2 separate regions of the Homo sapiens genome follow, and region 2 is linked to region 1. Evidence: promoter capture Hi-C in human tissues and cell types (Jung and others, 2019). All regions are on one chromosome and are shown on one strand. Each heading gives the region's core, a stretch centred on a gene start or on the middle of the fragment in contact. The rest is flanking DNA. Distances are from core to core; before and after follow the strand shown. Region 1 holds the start of GABRG3 (gamma-aminobutyric acid type A receptor subunit gamma3). Region 2 has its middle 390 kb from the start of OCA2.

Region 1 (6,362 bases), core at 829-3,328:
TCCCCAGTAACCGGACTGTTTTAAGGCAGAGGCTGAGGTATCTTCCTACTAAGCACATGCAGTAGTGAGGACAATAGGCAGTGTTTCTTCTAGAATGTTAAGAATCCAGAGACCTAAACAGTTGATTACTGAACCCTGAACGGCTGGTCACTCGTTTGAGTTGGTGGCAATAGAAAGGTGGCAGAGATGTGACTGCCGGCCTCAGCGTTATGCCCGGTGCTGTCTGCCTCCCTCTCCATCTCTAAACAGAGATACAACCAGGAAGAAGCAACCTCAGAAAGCATGTTTCCATTGCTTGCACCAGCTGCCTCTTGAGACAGAAAGAAACTTCAGCTGAAAGGCCCAAGGAGTGCTCTGTCTCTTTGAAAGAGTTGCCTGTGAGTCACCGGTGGAGTCGGCTTCCACACTCAACTCAGCAAAGAGGAGCAGTTGCAAGGGGGAGGGCCAGGGCTTCCTTCCTCAGGGTAAGCACCCCTGCCCAATTCAGGAGTGAGAACTGGGGGCCCCCTTCATGTTTAGTAGGATTTATTCATGTGTCTTCCTAGCTCCTTGGTAGTTCACAAATAGGAATGAAAAGGCAAGGCCTCCTGGCATTGCCTCCTGATGGTGGCCAGGCTTGTGCACGCAAGGATGCCCTCTGATTCTCTAGCTCCCAGACCCAGGAAATGGAGAAGCGTCAAAACAAGAGGGTTTGGGGGATAGGGGCACGCTGAGCTTCCTAGGGTGGGGAAAGAGGTAAAGGCCAGACACTGCTCCAATTTTCAAATAACAGGACAGTCTGCAAGCTCTAGCCAGAAATCCAGCCAGAGAGACAGAATTAAAGAAACTAAACCCAGAATCTCCAGTTGTGTTTACAGCAACAGGATTTAACCCTTTGGGTCCCACTGTCCTTGTATCCTCATGCGCCCTCTTCATCTCTTCTAGAGTGATTCTAAGCTCCCATTAGCCGGTTGGTGTACTGGGAGGAAGGTTGCGGAATTTATGGTGAGATGATTTCTTACATTACCAGGCAGAAGCCTTATTATCCATTTCGACATGCGTGCTTTATGGGGGTGGGAGTGCGTGTGTTCCTCTGTGTGAAAGTGGCTGATGTGGAAGGTGTGTGTGTGTGTTTGCAGGACCTGGGAGGGGAGTCCTCCCAGACAAGCAGGGCTTTCTTCTGCCCACCTGGTTCCAATCCCCCCGCGCCTGCCTCCAATGCATTAGCTCTTTCCAGCCCGGTCTAAACTAGGCAGTTAGAACCACGGTTCCCGGGTTCTTGGAAATTTCAGAGTGATGGAAATGACAGAGAATGTCAGCCAAAGTGTGTGTGTGTGTGAGCCCCTGAAACAGCTGAGGTGGGAATTAGGGGTCGGTAAGGAGCCAGAAATGGCCCCTGCCCCCTGAACCTGGTTCTCAAAACCCCTTAAAACCACCAGATCCTAAAAGCGTCAGGAGACGAGCCCATTAATCTGAGTCCCCACACTCCCGGCTGCAGAGGAAAAAGCAGATGACCGTGTCCAAGGGAGCTGGGACAGGTGAGGTGCAGACCGACTTCCCAGTCCCCTCCCGGCCCGCCGTGCCGCAGCCCAGCCGACGGCTGGCGCGCCAGGGACTCCAGCAGACAGCGCCCCCCGCCGCCCTGTCGCCCAGCTCGGGGCCTCCGGGGATGCGGCCCCCGCGCCACTTACCGCGCGTGCAAGCCCGAGAACAGGCAGAGGAGGAGCAGCAGCTTCGGGGCCATGGTGCCGTGGAGCTCGGGGCGCAGGGTCCGGGGCCTCGGCCGGGCGCGGCTTCCTCCGGCGCGGACCTGGTCTCCGCCGGCCCTCTTTGCCCTGGCTTCCTCCGAGGCTGCTGGCCGCGGCGGGCGGGACAGGTATCTACTCTGGCGCTGGCCGCGCCCCCGCGGGGCGCACACTGGACGCACACGGGACGCCGGGCCACCGCGGCGCGCCGCCCCCACCCGCGCACTAGCGCCGGTCCGCGCAACCGGGCGGCGGGAGCAATGGGCGCCGGGGACCCCCTGGCGCGGCGCCGCCCACCCCGCCTGGAGCCGCGAGCGGGCGCGGGTGCCCAGGCCGGGGCTGTGTGCGCTGTGCTGGGAGGTGGGGGCAGCTGGGCGGCTGTCCCCTGGCAGCGCCTCCGAGGCGGTCCCGGCGGGGAGGAGTTTCCCCAATTACACGCCTGACAACGCGCAGGGCGAGGAAGGCGAGGTTTGAATGGACTCGGAGTTTGAGGCCAGGAAGGGGGCGGAGCTCCGAGGGGGAGGGGAGGCTGGGGATCCCGCAGGGAGCCTGAAGAAAGGTCCCCGGGGTTGGCACCATGAGAGCGAGCCCGCGGTCCGCCTTCCTCCAGCCATTTCTACCCCAGTGCAGGTTTCCTCCAGCGCTCCCTGACCTCCCGTGCCCGCCGTCGCCCGGGGTTGAGACGGTTTGCCAAAAGCAGCCCTTCCATCGCACTCTTCGTGCTAAGTCGGCTGAACTCCTAGGCACTGATAAGATTCTGTGCTTGGAAAGGTGGCTTTCTGCGGGAATATTTGGGAAAAAAGCACCCCAGATTTATGCCTTTCTTACAGAAAAGAGAGACTAACACATAGCAATAAACAGTAGAGGTGGAAAGGCATGTTAAAGGTAGGAGCTAGAAAGATCCTAAGGCAAGAAGCCAAAGACGTTCCGTTTGGTGGAAGCATGAGGTGCGCCTCATTCCATGTATTTTCATATTCCAAAAACCGAAAATGGCATTTACGCTTTCATTTGTCATAATCATTCAGAAAGTTAGTCTTGCACCATGTAAGTATTGCAATCGCAACAGTGTAGTAAATCCACTAGGAATTTTACATTTCTATCACCCCCAAAAAGTTCTTAGAAAATGTTTTATAACTGCTATTCATAGAATTATGTAAGGGTGTGATAACTGTTTCTTTAATATTGTCAAATAGCTTTGTTCGGCCAGGCACAGTGGCCCAAGCCGGTAACCCCGGCACTTTGGGAGTCCGAGGCAGGCGGATCACTTGACCCCAGGAGTTCGAGACCAGCCTAGGCAATGTGCAAAAACCCTGTCTCTACAAAAAATAGTAAAGAATTAGCTGGGCATGGTGGCATGGGCCTGTATTCCTCTGGTGTGTTCCCCCTTGTTTCTGGATAGGCATGAAGTGGAGGGGAGTGCAGTTGTTAATGACAATATTGTTTTTCAACAATGGAGCTGTCATCTCCCTGGCATCACCTTTCTGTCTCTGTGAGGTGCTGAACTCACCCAGCTCCCCGCCTTTCCAGGACTCTTTCTGGCATTCTCATCCTCCTCTGCCCAGCACATCCCTCCTACTTAGGTGCACATGCCCTATAAGGTCCCCTCTTTGATGAAGACTCTGACGCTCCTGCATTCTTCCACTTCCAACACCTGTACCACTCCTTTAGGCTTCAGGGGAATATGAGCCTTTATCATACTCTGCCCTAATCTCTAATTTTCTGTACCAAAATCTGAGCACTTTAAAAATCAGTTAGATGATGATTTATTGTTCCTTCATTGCTTATGTCGTCTCCACATAAGAGACTTGAGTCTCACTCTATCGCCCAGGCTGGAGTGCAGTAGTGTCATCTGGACTCACTGCAATCTCCACCTCCCGGGTTCAAGTGATTCTCGTGCCTCATCCTCCTGAGTAGCTGGGATTACAGGCACCCACCACCACGCCTGGCTAATTTTTGTATTTTTAGTAAAGATGGGGTTTCACCATGTTGGCCAGGCTCTTCTGCAACTCCTGACTTCAAGTAATCTGCTCGCCTCGGCCTCCCAAAGTGCTGAGATTACAGGCATGAGCCACCACGCCTGAGTGTGCTGCAAGAATGCTGCAAGTAGAAACAATTCTTTTGTGTTTCCCTTCTTAACACAGTAATAGGAACATAAGTAAAAATAACCATCTGACATTGATCACATAACAGGGGCCAGGGCCGACAGGAAGGCTTTACATTGATTAACTCATTTTAACTCTCACAACATTATTTCCGTTTCGCATATAGAGAAAAAGCACAGAGAAGTTAAGTCGCTTACCCCAGGATCACACAGCTAGTAGGTGAGGACTGGGGGTTAAAAGCCAGGCAGCTGGCTCCAATGTTTCATTCCTAATCACTATACCATACTGTCTGCCTGAGTAGGTGCTCAGCTGACATTTGTTGTTGGGCTAGTTGATGAAAGTTTTGGACTTCTTACCATATTATTTATTTTTTGAGCATGAGTTAAAATACTCACAAGTTGTTTATAATAGAAATAGACTGTTACTTGAGTGATTTTGTAAAATATCAGTAAACAAGAAGTGTCCTGAGATTTGTTTGTTGTTATTATTTTTTTTACAATTCAATCAGTGAACAAGAAAACGCAATACTGTTTTTACATCCCTGTGTTCTTTATTCTTTTCCTTTCTTGCATATTTCAACGTGCTATTATGAATGAATGCAAGATGATCCCCTCTGGCCTTTGGAATGCTTCGCTTCATTTATTAGATTGAGTAGGTCAACTTGATACGTCTGAACATTTTCTCTTGGAAAGCCCCTCCCCTCTTCCTGGAACGAGATTTTGTTTTTTAAAGCTAAATGAGCTGAAAGGTTGGGGAAAAATCAAAGCAAGCTTTCTAGGCGTTAAGTGTGAAAGCAAAATGCAAGGTTAAGAATCTTCAAAGGGGCCGGGCGCGGTGGCTCACGCCTGTAATCCCAGCACTTTGGGAGGCCGAGGCGGGTGGATCATGAGGTCAGGAGATCGAGACCATCCTGGCTAACAAGGTGAAACCCCGTCTCTACTAAAAATACAAAAAATTAGCCGGGCGCGGTGGCGGGCGCCTGTAGTCCCAGCTACTCGGGAGGCTGAGGCAGGAGAATGGCGTGAACCCGGGAAGCGGAGCTTGCAGTGAGCCGAGATTGCGCCACTGCAGTCCGCAGTCCAGCCTGGGCGACAGAGCGAGACTCCGTCTCAAAAAAAAAAAAAAAAAAAAAAAAAGAATCTTCAAAGGAGAAGCCACAGGCTTTCATGTCTCTCCCTTGCCCCGGTTGACCTGCGGGGATGCTCTGCGGAGCATGCGCAGTGCGCACTCTCCAAGCCGCCTCAGCCTCTCCATTTTCAGCCCTGGAGAAGCGGGCGGGATTTACACTTTCTCCCCCTAGCTCGCGGGAATAGAAAGGGAAATAAAAAGTAAGTGAAAGCGAGCGCCACCAGAAGACTGGCTCTTAGTCCTAAGAGGTTAGGGTAACGAATCGGTTCTCACAACCGAAGCGCAGACGTGGCGGTAATGACGGAACAGCTCCAGCCTGGCGCGCTGCTTTGCTCCTGGCTTGGCGCTGGGTCCTCGGCTCCGGAGGTTCTGGGGAAGACCTGGGCTGCCCGCGCAGCTGCGGGTTGGACTTCACCTCGGCGGGGGCGGCGGGACCCTAGCAGCGTTGCCAGGAAGCGCCTTTCAGATCCCGCGGTGGCGCGCTGCGCCCCGCAGGCCGCGGAACCACCCCGCTGCCCACGCGCCCTTCAGCGCGCATCCGCTGCTCCGTGGTTGCCCCAGGTTCTGCTTTGAGAAACATCTCTCCCACTCCCAAAACTGTACTTCTGGGTTACATGATGTTTCGTGGTTTTATATTTTGAAAAAGCGCCTTTCCCTTGTCAATCAAAACGGTACTATCAAGGGATAATGCACACACAACAAAAATGCACCGATCTTAAAAGTATGGCTCAGTGAACTATTTCGCATGTGTATACCATATGTATATGAATAGCATATGTATAGCATCTGGATTATTATATATAACAAATATATAATTATGTAATTCCCAGTGGCTGGGCCATCTTCAAGTCAGTGCCGACACTGGGTAACCAACTATTCAGGCTTTGGCCACAGAAGCCTGGTTTTGCCCAGTCTTGCACCTCGCATACATGTGGTCATGCAGTATTATCCACTTAGCCTCCGGCTTCTCTCACTCAGTGCAGTGTCTGTGAGATGTACCCTTATTGCTACATTACCAGTCATTCATTACTTTTTACTGCTGTGCATGATAGTTCATTGTGTGAATACACCACACGTTATTTATTTGTTCCTATGCCAATGGATTTTTGGGTTTGAAACTTTGGGATGTTATGAATAAAGCTAACATGAATATTCTTGTCTTTTGATGGACATATGTGTTCATTTCTCTTGGTTATCTGACTGAAAATAGAATGTCCAGATCACAAGGAAGGCATGTGTTTCATGATTATAAATATTACTACAGAGATTTCTAAAGCAGTTATATTCATCACGCATTGGCAATATATGAGTTCTGGTGTATACCCTTGATGAAATGTGGCCTTGCCATTATTTTTGTCACCATTCTGATATTTCTTTTTTTTTTTTTTCTATTAGACGGAGTCTCGCT
Region 2 (6,747 bases), core at 2,894-5,393, 740 kb before region 1:
TGAAAGATATCAAATATCACTTAAATGAATGGAGAGACATGTTACCATGGAGATGGAGAAGAAGGGTGGAGGATGGAAGGGAGGGTATGGCTAAAAACGAGCACGAGGAAACCCTGTGGGCATGGCCTAGCTCTGTGACATGACCATTGTGATGGTTACACAACTCTATGCATGGGATTAAACTCACATAGAGTAAGTTATACACACACACGAGTGCACACAACGCTAGTGAAATACAAATTAGATCTGTGGATTGTATTACTGTCAAAGTCTAGGTTTCAATATTGCACTGTAGTCATAAGATTTGCCCTGGGAAAATGGAGTAAAAGATTCCCGGGCATTTCTGTATTATTTTTGCAACTTCCTCTTAATCTATAATTTCAAAATAAAACGTTAAAAATATTAAACCTGCGTGTATCAGTACAGAGAGGGGAACACAGACAAAGGTAATACAATGGAAAGTTTGGAAGCAGGCCTATGGATAATGCCAATCAGCAACAGGGCAGTGCTGCCACTGTACGTTGACATTCAACAAATGACGCTGCAATAGTCGATTCCTCGCTGGGACTCAAAAGGAAACGGCATCCTGACCTCATGCCTTAGAGAAAAATTAACCTCACATAGACCCAGTGGATAAAACCAAAATGTTACTTTGATAATCCTTTTTAATCTCTCTTTTCATTAAATACCAGAGAAAAAGTTGTTTGCTTTTCCTGGCTGTTCATGTAAACAAGGCAAGAAACCAAGTTCGAATTTGGTCCTGTGTATCGTCAGGTTTCTTTTACATTGTCTGCTTTCTATTGTGTACCTAAACTAATTTGGATTAAGCTACATGTAACAGAGACCCACAATTTCACAAGTTAGACAAGATAGCAGCTTTGTGTTTCACGCATTGGTGCAGAGGTACCTCACCCTCGGCTGCTGTGGTGTCTTGTCCACTGCTAACATGTTTCCATCTAGCTTCCTTATATGCCAGCCTTAAGGCGGCTTTCTGCAATGCCCATATTCCAACCACAAAGGAGAAGAGAAATGACCAACATGGGATCGCCTTCCTTTTCTCTATCGATATGACTCATCCCATTGGTTGGAATTTAGTCAACGAACTCACCAAACTGCAACGGATTCTGGGAAACAGTCAATACAATGCTTGGTGTGCACCACTAAAAATCGGGAATTCTAACGCTGTGAAACTGAAAAAGCTGGGCAGGGTTAACTGGCAGTCAACCACCCAGCAACAGGAATGCACAGCGCACCCAAGTGGTCAGGTTTGCTGGGCTCATTCCACGTTCAGTAATAAAACCTGCCAGGGCACAGTGACCACCACCAGGTCGACTTGGAGTGTCAACGCATTGTCCTTTTGCATCCATCTGTTTTTTATTAGAACAGTGGGTTTCAAGACGTTGGTTCCCAATTTCAGCTATACCAGCGTTTAAACATTCTTAAAGATATAAATATTGAGTATCTCTTTTTTCCCTGCCCCCGGTATGCTGAATAAGAAAGTCTAGCCGTGGGCCTGGAACTGGTTCCTTGCGGAGGGTTCTTGGGTTCACAGACTTCAAGAACGAAGCCACGAACCCTCGCAGTGAGTGTTGCGGTTCTTAAAAATGGTGTGTCAGTCGTTTGTTCCTTTCACATGTGTCCGGAATTTCTTCCTTCTGGTGGGTTCGTGGTCTTGCTTACTTCGGAAGTGAAGCCGCAGACCCTGGCCGTGTTACAGCTCCTAAGGGTGGCGGGTCCGGAGTTGTTCATTTTTCCCGGTGAGTTTGTTGTCTCTCTGACGTTAGGAATGAAGCCACAGACCTTTGCCGTGTTACAGCTCCTAAAAGTGTCACGTCCAGAGTTCGCTTCTCTCGAGGAGTTCGTGGTCTTCCTGATTTAGGAGTGAAGCCGCAGACTCTCCCAGTGTTACAGCTTTTAACGGAAATCCGAACCCAAAAAGTGAGAAGCAAGAAGATCTACTGTGAAAAGGAAAATAAGAAAGATTCCACATTCCGGAAAAAGGATTCGAGCAAGTTGCGTTGCAGCCCAGGTGGCCTTTTATTCCCTTATTTGGCCCCGCCCACATCCTGCTGATTGGTCCATTTTACAGAGTGCTGATTGGTCCATTTTACAGAGTGCTGATTGGTCCGTTTTTGCAGAGTGTTGATTGGTGCATTTACAAACTTTTAGCTAGACACAGAGCGCTGATTGGTGTGTTTACAATCCTTTAGCTAGACAAAAAAGTTCTCCAAGTCCCCCTGACCCAGAAGCCCAGCCAGCTTCACCTCTAAGTGGTGGGGCTAGAGTTTCTCCAAATCCTCCAGATGATTCTAATTTAAGCTAAAATTTGAGATCCACTATAATTACAAAGTAAATCATGAAGGAAAGTGTTAGGGGAAAAAGAGATTTAGGTTTGTAGGAATTATGTAGTGGAATTCTTAAAAAGTATAGAAAATTTAAATGTGATTAAATGTGATTCTAAAAGCAATAAACGAGATTTTTTGAAGAGACTGGATGTGAGCAATTGAAAAAAATTGTTTATCACTGCTTACTGGGTTATCTGTATTCTCGTGAACCTGTGACATCCAGAGGTGGCAAAGCCATGTCCATACTGTTGTTTTCAGTCTCCATAGCACACAGCACATTGCCTGGCATGCAGCAGGCACACAATAATGTGCTAGATGAGTGGATGAAAGAGGAGAACAGAAAGTACATTTTTGTGTCTTTATCAGGGAGACAATCATCATTGTGTGGCCATGAATTTTAAGCATTAGTAAGTCTAAGAAGGAAAAATATCTGTGCTTAAGCTTTTATTTTATAGCAATGGTGACAGGTTTTATATTTAAACATATATAGTACAAGCAGTTGCCCAAAAGTTTGATTGCTTGTCCTACTGAAAATATGTGCATTATTTTTTTTATTGCTGCCTGAATTTTAGTGGCTTATACAATGCAAATTTGTTTTCTTAAAGTTAACGTGGATTAGAAGTCCAACACTGGCTGCTCCAGGCTAAAACCAAGGTGTTGACAGAGCTGCCTTCCTTTCGGGAGATCTAGGGAAGAATCCATTTCCTTGCTTATTCAGGTTGCTAGCAAAATTCAGATTCCTGTGGTTGTAGGGTTTAGATTCAAGTTTGCATGTTGACTGAGAGTTGGGGCCATTGCCAGCTTTAAAGGTTCCCTGCTTTCCTTGGCTCATGGCCCCTCCTCCATCTTTATAGCCAGCACCAGCAGGCTGCCTCCTCTTCCCCGTTACATCTTACCTTGACCACTGCTGAGAAAGACTCTCGCCTTCTAAGGACACATATGATTAATTGGGCCCACAAAAAAATCCTGGGCCAGGATTTTATATCCTGGATATAAAATCCAGGATAATATCTCCTCCTCAAATCTTTAATCACATCTGAAAATCCTTTTTGCTGCGTAAGGTAACATATTCACAAAGCCCAAGGAGGAAGTCATGGACTCCTCTGAAGGACTATTGTGACTACTGCAGTCTGTCCGCTAGCCTCCAAATAGTCACACCTGTCCCAGTTGCAAATATACATCCACCCAGTCCCAAGGTTCCCTGAAGTCTTATCCAATTAAAAAATCAACTCAAAATCTAAAAATATTGTTTAAATATCATCAGCTCAAAAGTCTCAGGTATCATTATCTAAATTGTCTAAATTAAGTATGGGTAAGGATCTGGTATGATCCATCTTAGGACAAAATTTCTTTTTATCTGTGAAACTGTTAAACTACAGAAATAAGTTATCTGCTCCCCAAATACAGTAGGATAAGGGTTATAGACATTGTTATTCAAAGAGGGAGGAAATGGAAGAAATAAAGAAGTCATTGGGTTCAAATCCAGCCAAGGAAAACTCCATTATGTGTCAAGGCTTAGAAATAACCCTGTGTTCCTCAAGCTCCACCTTTTGAGCCTCTGACTCCACTCTCTACACTCTGAGATCTCCCGTTTGAGTTAATCTTTCTTAATGAAAGGTAACTTACACTCTCAGCTGAGTAATTTTATCATCCAGTTTCTTGCCTGTGGAATCTGGAGAGTCCAAGTTATTCTCTCATGTTCAACAGCTTTCTTTTCTTTTGTACTCTCCCCAACCCTTTCAGTCCAAGCTGGCACTGTTTCTGCTGATAAAAAATTCTCAGGAACCGTGTGTGTCTTTTGTGTATATCATGGTGATTCACTCCATTAGACAAGTGGCGTGTCCACAAATCTTTTCTAGATAATTTCATCTCAATTTTTGGTTTTTGTCAAGATGGCCAAGGGACGATGTTGTTACATTTCCTAGATGCTCTGTAGCTTGATTTGGGGGGTCTGTGAGTCCTACCCTTAATGTTTTCAAAGATCCTTTGTGTAACTGAAAACTGACTTTTTGATCATTCAAAGGGGTTTACTTTAAGCCATTTCTCTAGAGTATGCTTTCCTGATAGTAAATCTTTTAATTTTAATGCGTCTCACTGTTCAGACATGCTGAGAATTTCCCACACCATCAAGTTCTAGTTCCTTTTTGTTTAATAGCTCTTCCTTCAATTTATCTGTTTCATCTTGCCTTTTACTATAAGCAGCTAGAAAAAAAACAGAACACATCTTTAACATTTTGCCTGAAAATCTCTCTTCTAAATATCTAATTTTATTGTTTACAGGTTCTTCTTGTCACAAAACTGTGACATAATTCAGCTAGGCTTTTTTCCACTTATAAGAAGCATTACCTCTCCTCCAATTTCCAATATATATTCTTTACTTCCTTCTGAGCTCTTAACACCAGCACCTTTAATGTCCATTTTTTCTATCAATGGTCTGTTCATGCAGATTTAGGTATTCTCTAAGGTGATTTACTTTTTTTCTATAATGCTCCTCACTTTCTTCTTAGCCTTCATTGGAAGTATTTAACATTCATGAATAGTTTGTTTAAGACAACGGAGGCTTTTTCTATTATGCTCCTCAAAATTCTTCTCACCTCTGACCAATATCCAATTTTAAATCCACTTCTGTATAGTTAGGTGTTTGTTACAGGTGCATTCCATTTCCAGGTACCATTTCCAGGTACCAATAGCCTGTATGAATCTTCTATTGCTGCCTTGAAAAATAACCACAAACTAAATGGCTTAAAATAACACAAATTCATTATCTCTCAGTTCTGTGGTCAAAAGTCCAATACTGGTCATATCAAGCTAAAATCAGTGTGTTGGCAGGGTTGCATTCCTTTCTGGAGGCTCAAAAGAAAGATGTGATTTTTGATTTTTTTTTTCTTGGCAGAATTTAGTTGCCTGAAGTTGTAGGACTGAGATACCTCTTTTCTTGTTAGCTGTGAGTTGAGGGTCATTCCCCATTTCCAAAGGCTTCATGTGATTAGATTAGGCCCATCCAGGACAATCCAGAAAAATTTTCTTCATATAAAAGCCTGTAATCTTAATCACAAGAGCAAATCCCTTTGCCAGGTAACATATTCACAGGTTCTGGGTATTGGGGCATGAACATCTTTAAGTGGCCATTATTCTGCCAACCACAATGCAGTAGGTAAACAGTAGGCATCACTTCTGGAGTCATGTTAGCAAAAATGGCAGAGTGGGTAGCTCTAAGGCTAGCTAGACCCTTCACAGAAATGCTGAAATAATGAGAAAATCTGTGAGGATCTACTTTATCCGAATTCTAGAAAATGGTCAAAGATTTACACCAGCCAAGTTTGTTTTATTTTCTTTTTTTGAGGCAATATAAAAACAGTAGGAGAGATTTGTGGCATTTTTATTTTCCCTTGTTTTACCTCCCTCCCTAGCTGGTCATTGCTCTTGAAGATGGAAGCCCATGTTTTGACTGTGGGACTCTAGTCATTGGTTTCAGAGGAAACAGAGAAGAACTTTTCTCAAAGAATTATCTTTGTCTGTTTTGATCTGTCTGGGTGTTACCTGAAGGAATGATGCAATGTGCTTGTCTTCGTTTCGCTTAACTTGGAACTCTCTAAGAGCAGAAAAGTGGCTATGCTGAGAGCATTCCTCAGGAACATTGAAAGGCAAGTGAGCCACCTTCTAGTGACTTGGGAAAATACTACATTTCAGGCAAACAAAAGACATACCAAAATCCTGGGATGAAAAGCTTAAAAGAGAGATTCTTTGGCAGATTAGAGTATTGAAAAGCACCTATGTATTCCAGGGTATTTAGAAAGCCACAGCATGCCCAGGGAAGGAAATAAGCTCAGAAAAGACTCAAGAAGACTCTAAACCTCTACTTCTGGCTAACCTTTAAGGCTGGTGTCAGCAGGTAGTGAAGGCTAACACAGAATTGTAAATGGCTGGGCTCAGCACTGAAGGAGTGTCCAATAAAGGGCCATTCTGCAAACACTGTGAGAGGTTTCTTGTTTTTGCATTTTGTTTTCTGGCTTTAGGCATTCAAAGAATCTCTGTCAAAAACACTAGCTGACTGCAAGCTAGAGGAACAGAGACATCAGAGACCACAAATGGCAAAGAATACAGTCTTTATGTATTAGTCCATTTTCCCACTGCTATAAAGAACTACCTGAGACTGGGTAATTTATAAAGAAAAAGGTTTAATTGACTCACAGTTCCACATGGCTGGTCCCTGTCCCTCCCTCAACATGTGGAGATTATAATTCGAGATGAGATTTGGGTGGGGACACAGAGCCAAACCATATCACTTTATAAAAATAGTTTAGAAAAGTTATCAAACAATTATAACCCAAAACAAGCAACAAAAACAAACCCTGAGGAGGGGGAAGAAACTTATTTCCTGAGTTACCGTATTATAATATTT

Evidence for each region. Contacts are between HindIII fragments. The study calls those that stand out against the background at their distance.
Region 2: a fragment that was not itself captured here is called in contact with the fragment with the promoter of GABRG3 in region 1 in 1 of the 25 tissues and cell types used here (dorsolateral prefrontal cortex).

Annotation. Positions count from the first base shown.
Region 1 is chr15:26,966,897-26,973,258 of GRCh38, reverse strand. It overlaps GABRG3 (gamma-aminobutyric acid type A receptor subunit gamma3), which reads right to left and starts at 2,078. Exons shown (of 10, transcript NM_033223.5): 1 at 1,671-2,078. The coding sequence starts at 1,723. The HindIII fragment of the contact is 15,270 bases long and covers 1-6,362 here.
Region 2 is chr15:27,709,388-27,716,134 of GRCh38, reverse strand. No RefSeq gene overlaps it. Among named protein-coding and RNA genes, the nearest start is that of OCA2, 390 kb to the left of the region's middle. RefSeq lists an enhancer at 1,233-2,432. The HindIII fragment of the contact is 5,648 bases long and covers 1,320-6,747 here.